Linked DNA regions of Homo sapiens: region 2 is linked to region 1. The links are contacts of gene promoters, found by promoter capture Hi-C in human tissues and cell types (Jung and others, 2019). All regions are on one chromosome and are shown on one strand. The core of a region is centred on a gene start or on the middle of the fragment in contact, and the rest is flanking DNA. Distances in the headings are between cores, read along the strand shown.

Evidence for each region. The method cuts DNA at HindIII sites, captures the fragments that hold promoters and counts their contacts. A contact is called where the count stands out against the background at its distance.
Region 2: a fragment that was not itself captured here is called in contact with the fragment with the promoter of PAIP1 in region 1 in 1 of the 25 tissues and cell types used here (lymphoblastoid cells).

Annotation. Positions count from the first base shown.
Region 1 is chr5:43,555,010-43,559,624 of GRCh38, reverse strand. It overlaps PAIP1 (poly(A) binding protein interacting protein 1), which reads left to right and starts at 2,548. Exons shown (of 11, transcript NM_006451.5): 1 at 2,548-3,043; 2 at 3,626-3,795. The coding sequence starts at 2,779. RefSeq lists a silencer at 2,253-3,112. The HindIII fragment of the contact is 2,914 bases long and covers 78-2,991 here.
Region 2 is chr5:43,004,290-43,008,962 of GRCh38, reverse strand. No RefSeq gene overlaps it. Among named protein-coding and RNA genes, the nearest start is that of FLJ32255, 13 kb to the right of the region's middle. RefSeq lists a silencer at 717-806 and enhancers at 1,247-1,296, 782-1,634. The HindIII fragment of the contact is 7,081 bases long and covers 1-4,673 here.

The sequences.
Region 1 (4,615 bases), core at 1,299-3,798:
GATGATTCTCTTTAGGGAGTTCCACATGGTGTTCACACGTTCATGTGTTTCTGTCTATGCATTTTGCAATACCTGCCAGTTAGCTCTAAAACAGTCCCAAGATGGATCTGAGCCCTTGCGGTATCTTGGCACCTTTTATGTAAAGTGAAAATATTGGAATGTCTATCTCACAGGATATGAGGATAAAATAAAATGATAAAATAAAAGCTCTTAAAAGGTGACTGACGCATAATAAATATTAGATATTTTTATTATCATGATGCAAAATCCATTCGTGTTATCTCCAAGTCCACCATCCACACATTATAAGAATAGGGCAAAAGTTATACAGTAACAAATACAGAGAAGGCAAAGGATATCTTACCTAATTTTCCTAACAAGAGGGTGTGAAGATGTCGTGACATCACCATGGATGCAGAATGGCCTTATCTTCACATGGGAAAGTCCCAGTTGTTAGAAAAGGTGCTGTTCATCATAAAAGTTTTAAGGGGAAATGAAAAGGTGGTGAGTGCAAACAAAAGCTTGGGGCAGAGTTGGGGCATCTACTTCAGTGGAACATAACTCATTGTTAGTTTTTTAGCATAGTTTATGGGTCTTTCCTGTATGATAAAAAAGTCCAGGCAAGAAGTGACTGGTGACCACATACAATAATGAATTTGAAAATATTAAAATTGTAATTTTTAAATTGTAATCTTGTCTCTGCAATATATGCTGAGTGTTACCACACAGTTATTATTTTACAGATGAGGAAAGTGAGGCTCAGAGAAGCTAAACCCCTTACTTACTCAAAATCACACAGACAGCAATAGTCAAGAGTGGAATCCCAACTAAGCTCTGGCAGACTGAATCCTAAACTTTCCGTACACCGAAGAGCCACACGTACTGCTGGCTTCCTTCCCTGACTTCATTATTTTGCCTAACATCAATAGCATGAACCATTTATTCATGATTGCCCTCGGTGAAGCCATTTTCTCATTCGTTTAGGGGAAGACATTGTTTTCTTTATTAATGAGAAGAGAAAACGGTTAACAAGAGTTTGTGTCCCTAATTGAAATGATTCTTAAGATGAAAAGATAGAAAAACATGAAACCCTGCTTAAAACAAAAGGCTAAAATCAGAATTTATGGAGATGGATCAATCCAACAGTAAAGAAATCAATTTTTCCTTCCTTGTCGTTACTTATATTCATCTATCCTTTATTTGGCATTAATACTGTCAGGCCTGACAAAAACAACAATTTACATATTAATAAAATCTAGAATTGTGCTGTGCAACGCAGTAGCCACTAGCCACATGTGGCTCTTGAGCCCTTGAAATGTGCCAATCCCGACTAAGATGTGCCATAAGTGTAAAATATACACTGGATTTCAACTAGTATCTAAAAAACAGAGAAAATATTTAATATTTTAAATCGCATGTTAAAAAACCATTTTGAACATAATGGATTAAATAAATTTAAATTAATTTCACCTGGTTTTTGTTTTGTTTTGTTTTGTTTTTTGAGACAGAGTTTGGCTCTTGTTGCCCAGGCTGGAGTGCAACGGTACGATCTCGGCTCACTGCAACCTCTGCCTCCTGCGTTCAAGCGATTCTCCTGCCTCAGCCTCCAGAATAGCTAGGATTACAGGCATGTGCCACCACGCCCGGCTAACTTTGTATTTTTAGTAGAGACGGGGTTTCTCCATGTTGGTCTGGCTGGTCTCGAACTCCCGACCTCAGGTGATCCGCCCCCCTCGGCCTCCCAAAGTGCTGGGATTACAGGCGTGAGCCACTGCGCCTGGCCACACCTGTTTCTTTTCACTCATTTAATGTGGCTTCTCCAAAATGTAAAATTACATAAGTGGCTTGCATTTGTGGCTCGCATTATATTTTCATTGGACAGCACTGATGCAAGATGAAAAAGAGGGCAGAGTTACACTGAAAGGTAGCACATTTTCTTGAAATTTCTGGAGGGGAAGGTTAACGGGAAGAGAACGAAGCTTGTTAAACGTAGGTGTGACCTACTGTGGTAAACACCTAGGGTGAATTAAAGAGGGGACACATATTTTGATTCCGTTTCTACTCCCTTCCCCCGATGCTAACGGAGCAGGTGACAGTCTCCCAGGGACCACTCCTCAGCAGTCCGCGGGTCTCGGCCGGAGCCGAGTCATTGAACACACCTGTGCGCCAGCGAACCCTGGCGCAGGGTCCACGCCCCCTCCCCCCGTGTTTTTATTTCCCGGGCGTCAACTGTCGGTCTCGCACGTCTCTCCTGAGAACTACCGAGTAGGTCGGGCCTGCCTGTGGTAAGCGTCCCCCTCACCCCTCATCCCTCATCCCCCCCAGCCTGGCCCCGGAACCGAGATGCCCCTGCCCGAGCCTGGCTGCGGGCCGGCAGGTGGCCAAGACGCCACTCGGCGGGCGGCCTGCTGGGCCCGGCGGCCGGCCAGCCGCGAACTGGAGGATCCTCGCGGGCGCGTCCCGGGCCTCCGGGCCGCAGGGGGCCGCTGTGACCCGCCTGCGCCCCTGCCGCGCCGAAGGCGGGGAGCCGGGTTTTGGGGGAGAACTGGAAAGCCGAGGGTAGCCGAGCGGGGCGGGCGCTCTGGAGCGGCGGGTGCTCGGGCTGCCGTCCGCTCCGCCAGAAGCACCGAGCAGCCGAGCCGGGGCCCGCCGCCCTCCTCCTCCATGAGGCCCGAGTGAGGCGCGGCGGCTATAGCCGACCCGCGGCGCCTTCCCCCCGCGTCCTATCGCGAGCGCAGCGGCAGCGGCCCCTGGAGGAGGAGGCGGAGGAGGAGGAGCATGTCGGACGGTTTCGATCGGGCCCCAGGTGCTGGTCGGGGCCGGAGCCGGGGCCTGGGCCGCGGAGGGGGCGGGCCTGAGGGCGGCGGTTTCCCGAACGGAGCGGGGCCTGCTGAGCGGGCGCGGCACCAGCCGCCGCAACCCAAAGCCCCGGGCTTCCTGCAGCCACCGCCGCTGCGCCAGCCCAGGACGACCCCGCCGCCAGGGGCCCAGTGCGAGGTCCCCGCCAGCCCCCAGCGGCCTTCCCGGCCCGGGGCGCTCCCAGGTACGGAGCAGCTCTAAGGGCCCCAGTCCTCCTTGGCGAACGCTTCCCCACGGCCCTCCACGCGTGCCGAGGCCCGACGCGCTGTCTGCGGTCCCCACCCCCGGTTCCCCGAAAGCATTCCCCGAGAGGGCCGCGTGACCGGGTAGGGACGGGCCCGGAACCGGGTTTGGAAGGTGTCTGCTGGAATCCTTTGTGCGCCTGGCTGGGGGGAGGGGCCGGGTGCGCGGTCTCGGAGTTCGGGGTCCCGGGAGGAAGTAAAAATCGCCTCCCCTCAGCAGCCCTCTAAAGCGAGACCCTAGCGAGTAACCACCTCTTTTCCACCGACCCCTTTAAAACGACAGAGAGGAAAAAAGCTCGCAAGCACTCATTTGAGAGGCAGGTATGCCCATAACGGAGTCACAGCAAGTCTATTGTTCCTTTTTGTAGGCTGTCTGTACACATTCCGGCGATAACCATAAATTTCATGATGGTTCCTGTTTAACTCTTAAAAACAGACGCTTTTCAGATGGTTTTTCAGTATATAGCAAGTTGCTGTACAAAGGAAAGAATGCATCTGACGCCCCGTTTTTTTTTCTTTTGCAGAGCAAACGAGGCCCCTGAGAGCTCCACCTAGTTCACAGGATAAAATCCCACAGCAGAACTCGGAGTCAGCAATGGCTAAGCCCCAGGTGGTTGTAGCTCCTGTATTAATGTCTAAGCTGTCTGTGAATGCCCCTGAATTTTACCCTTCAGGTTATTCTTCCAGTTACACAGTAAGTACACCCTTTTTCCTACAACTCTGGGTTAATTTACTGGAATAATGTGGTTGTTACTTTGTTAATCAGAGTATGTTTGTGCTTTCTGTACTACACGTAAAAAAATTTTTTTATTGTGAATGTTTTGAATTATTGAACTCAGAAGGAAACAAAGCTGATTCAGAAATACATTTTGTAGTTATATTCAAGGTATTAGAATGTAAGCTTGAGATACACATCTGTGTTCTTGTTTCTAGTGATTATTCCATTATGTTAAAATAGACATAGTTTTGATCCTAATTATTGTATGCAGAAATGTCCTACGGGGTTGTGATAAAGTATTTACATAGGTATAAAGAATGTTTAAACTTTCAGTTTTTCTTTGTCACTTATATAACAACTTTAAAAAATAGTCACTTTTCTTAAATAGCCGTACAAAGCACAGTTGGAATATGTAGAAAGGAATTTGTTGTACTGGATAAACCCAGATGAGTAAATGCATAGGGATTAATTATAGAGAAGTGGGAGGGAATCATTGGAGAAATGATTGATGATACTTTAGCTTAAATCCTGTCTTTCCTATCTTCTTAGTTTTATTGAAGTATAGCAGAGAATAGTGTACTTAAGTGTTAGCTCAGTCTCATAAAGTGAACACTCAACTAACCAGCATCCCAGTCAGGAAATAGAACATTATCAACATCCCGAAAACCCACTCTGTCTCCTTCCAGTTGTTCTTGATGTCCAAGTATAGCACTGTTTTGACTTCATAGGATAGTTTTGCCTGTGTTCAAAGTTTATATAAATAAAGTCATATAGAATATATTCTTTCTCACTTTCA
Region 2 (4,673 bases), core at 236-2,735, 550 kb after region 1:
AAATTTATTTTATTTTTTATGTAAATGTTATGTATTTTATTTTTTCTTACCCACTGCCTTCCCCAGGAGAGTAAATGTGGCATAATTTCTTCTACTGATTTTGAGTATCATGTCTCAGCTTCCTACTAACTAGCTTTCTCCCGTGAGTCGGGGAGCAGAGCTGGTGCCTGGTCTCTAGGGTTCTCTTCCGCGGCTCTGTGCCTATGTCGAGCCAGCAGTTTCGCATCAGCACTTTCGCCAATAGCGGAGACTCAGTGTTTTCTCGGCTGCTGCACCGCTGGAAGCGCTGAACACAACAGAACGTTTCGGCGGGGCGCTGTGGCTCACGCCTGTAATCCTAGCACTTAGGGAGGCTGAGGCGGGTGGATCACTCGAGGTCAGAAGTTCGAGACCAGCCTGGCCAGCGGGTGAAACCCCGTCTGTACTAAAAATACAATAATTAGCTGGCCGTGGTGGCGCGTGCCTGCAATCCCAGTTACTCGGGAGGCTGAGGCAGTATGCTTGAACCCAGGTGGCGGAGGTTGCAATGAGACGAGATTGCGCCACTGAACTCCAGCCTGGGTGACAGAGCGAGGCTCCTTCTCAAAAACAAAACAACCCAGAACGTTTCTTGTTCACAAGACTCAGAAGTGCTTTGTGGTAACGCTTCCCCTCTCCTAGCGCCGCCACTTTCCCCGGGCTGGCTGTCTCACGGTCTCAGCCCAGTGATTGGCCGAGGAGGCGCTCTTTCAGCACTTTCGCTGGAAGGGCTTGGGCTCGGTTTTTCTGCCACAGGCGTTTCATTGGGTAGGTGCTTTCTCGGTGGAAGCACTGTACAACCTTCCAAGCCTCGATATTTCTCAGAGACGACGATTTCTTAGTGGCAATACCTTAACTGCACCAAAAACTAAAGTTTGCCGCTGGGTACTCCGCTAGTCGTTCAGTGTCCGCATTTGCTATTGATGCAGGATTTTTGCTTCTAAGCTCAGCTATATCCGGGTCCTTGTCTCACGATCAGGAGGAAGTGGGCACGCGGATATCGAAGAGTGAGTGGAGTAGAATTTATTAAGCGTAAACGAAAGCTCTCATAAAAAACAAGGGTCCTGAAAGCAGGTTGCCGGTTGCTCCTTAACGGCTGAATACAAAGGCTTTTATATGAAAGCTAAGGAGGCTGGGTTCCCTGTTTGTATAAGGCGAGAATCCCGGGTGGCTCCATCCCATTCCCCCAGTGCGCATGCGCGCTCTTAATCCGCAGCAGGCATGCTTAGGCAAGTCCCTTGTGCAAGTTCCCTTATCTGCACAAAACACCAGTCGGAGGTTCTCTGGGGACCCTTCCCTTACAGTCTCCCTAAAGCTGGCTAACTCCTTTCACTATGTCCCAGTATCCCTGGTTCCTCGGACTGGCACTTTCTGAGTCATAGCACCGCTCATTCGTCCGAGCAGAATTGATCTCGGTGGCAGCACCTCTGGTGGGTCAAGCCTGCAGCTTCTCCTGAGCAGTTTCGTTAGTTTTTGGGTCCTAGAACCGCTAGTGGTACCATAGCGGCTCTTCATGGGTTGCAGGACGTTTGCCAACTCCACCCCACGCTGCCTGCCTAGGTTCGGCTACGGGGCAAAAAGAACAGACTCCTGCAAAGGAAGAACCCCGAGGGTTGGATATTTAGGAAAGACGTCCTTTGCAGTGCCACGTCCGCGGATGCTGCACTTGGCTTTCTCCTCCCTCCTGGGGAAGAATTGATGTTTACTTCTCCCCACTCTCCGGGCCGCATTATCCAGGGATTTCGGGGACTAGATTACCTGAGATTTTAGCGCTTCTACTGGATCATCCTTTTGGAAATAATTATCACTTACAATAATGTCTATCCGGGCCGGGTGCGGTGGCTCACACCTGTAATCCCAGCACTTTGGAAGGCCGAGGAGGGTGGATCACGAGGTCAGGAGATCGAGACCACCCTGGCCAACATGGTGAAACCTCGTCTCTACTAACAGTACAAAAATTAGCCGGGCGTGGTGGCGCGCGCCTGTAGTCCGAGCTACTTGGGAGGTTAAGGCAGGAGAATAGCTTGAACCGGGAGGACTGCAGTGAGCCGAGATCCTGCCACTGCACTCCAGCCTGGCAACAGAGCAAGACTCCGTCTCAATAATAATAATAATAATAATGTCTATCCATGTTCTTTAAAAAAGTTTGCCTTCACTATTCTTTATCAACGTTTGGTTGTCTTTCTCAATAAAATAATAGAGAAACATCAAATGCCTTTTGTTTCTTTTGTTTTGTTTGGTTGTTGTTGTTTTAGGATCAAGACCAAGTCAGAGGTCTGTTGCTGGGTAAGGAGTGCAGGTAGGAAAGAAGCCAGGACTCCTCCCACTTACATTCCTTGATTCCTCAACCCAAGCACATACTTGGTAGGACTGTCTTTGGCCAAAAGCTTTTATCTTTCCAAGTTCTTCCTGGGCTCTGACAAGTGCCTGGGAAGTGGTACAGTAGTCCCCAGCTCTACAAATTGCTGTTCTGGAGGGTGGGTTGGCAGAAATGTTGGCTAGTTGAAATGTGAGTGGGGCAGCTTAGGTAGGCAATGATTACCTAAAGACTGTAAAGCCAAGGCGACTAGACCTGTATACCTTGGTGGTGAAGACCTAGGAAACCAGGTCTCCATCACTTATACACTATAAGGTGTAACATTTCAGAAGTAAACTGAAATCTTATGCTTCATATTCCTTTTCAGTAAACTCAGTGGCATATTACACTAATCATGGTGTCCACTTTTTTCCTGAGTTATATACTATTGAAAGATCTTAGAACACTCTAGCACAATGTAAATGTTCATTATATATTAATTACAATTACTTTACATAACTGTTCTTTTTCAGTGATTTTTTTTATACCTCAAATCACCAAACACAAGCCTGAATCCACTAAAATGTCCTTTCTAACACCCTCATTTTGAGACAGCTCGTGGTTCTCTATGATAAGTTCTTGGGTGAGGAGTAACAAATCTAGTTTCTTCAACTGCAAACTCAGTTTCTGATGGTCTTTGGCTAAAGCATATTCACACATACGAGGAATTGATGAAAATGACATCTAGCAGGGACGTTAATGGTTCTTAAATACTTTGGGTTCATTTCTGATTGGCCTTTATTTCTAATAAAGGTATCTGAGGCTGGGCGCAGTGGCTCACACCTGTAATCGCAGCACTTTAGGAGGCCGAGGCGGGTGGATCATTTGAGGTCAGGAGTTCAAGAGCAGCCTGGCCAACATGGTGAAACCCCGCCTCTACTAAAAATACAAAAAATTATCCGGGCGCGGCGGCGGGAGCCTGTAGTCCCAGCTACTCCGGAGGCTGAGGCAGGAGAATGGCGTGAACCCGGGAGGCGGAGCTTGCAGTGAGCCGAGAGATCGCGCCACTGCACTCCAGCCTGGGCGACAGAGCGAGACTCCATCTCAAAAAATAATAATAATAAAATAAATAAATAAATAAATAAAATAAAAATTAGCCAGGCGTGGCGGCGCTTGCCTGTAATTTCAACTACTCGGGAGACTGAGTCAGGAGAATCACTTGAGCCTGGGAGGTGGAGGTAGGTTGCGGTGAGCCGAGATTGCACCACTGCACTCCAGTCTGGGTGACAGAACGAGGCCCTGTCTAAAAAAAAAGTATCTGAGAAAGGCAAGAAAGAAGAAAGTTTAGAGGGTGCCAGGAATTTTTAAAAAAATCTTTACTTCCCCCAAATTTGGAGAGTAATACTTCATCATTGGGGAGGGGAAGTAGTTTCAAATATTTCTGTAATTATTTGAAAGTGGAAGTATCGAATAGAGTCCCATAATAAGTTTCCTTATTAACAACTTGGAAGTTCCTAGAGTTTTGAAAGGTAATGTTTTGGATTTTTTTAATAGAGTATAAATTTTGTCTCTATACTCATTTGCAAGGAGATCCTGCCCTGAACTATGATAAGGCTATGTATTGTGATTATTGTTTTCTTATTGTTAGAAAGTCTTCTCTCTTTAAGTTTTGTCTGTCACCATTCTTTCCATGTGGGAAAGCCTTTAAAGGATACAGTCCTCAAAGAAAAATAAAACCCTCTGATTATGACTGTGTATGATAAGTTTAATTGATACTCCTATATCGTTCTTGAAAATATAGTACTTAATTCATAAAATACTTGTCAAAACTAGAGTGTATTTTGCCCCACACCTTCAGTAACATTGGGTATAATAATTTAAATGATCTTTGTAGTTGCTGAGGCAAAATTATATAAATACTTGTGTAAAAATAGAGTGCATTTTGCCACACATCTCTAGTAATATTGGGTATAATTAAATGATCTTTGTAGTTTCTCAGGGAAAATATACATGTTGCTTTTAACTTTCACTCATTTAATTTGGAAGCATCACATTTCTACAGGCATAAGCCACCTCACCAGGCCTTTTCTTCTTCATTTTTTTAGTAAAGAAAGATAAAAATAATGTCCATTCTTTGTAAGATACTGGAAAATAACTTGGTTTCCAAAGAGTTTCCATCCGGTCCCAAATTTGGAGAAATGAACCTGCACACTCCAGTGCAATGTCAAATCTAGACAAACAAGAGGCAAATGTTATTAACATTAGAAAATGTATACTCTCCATTAAAAGCAAGGATGGGAATTCCTTGGGACCAGAAATGCAAAGAATTCCTGGAAGTGGACTCTAGGTGTCTGCAGAA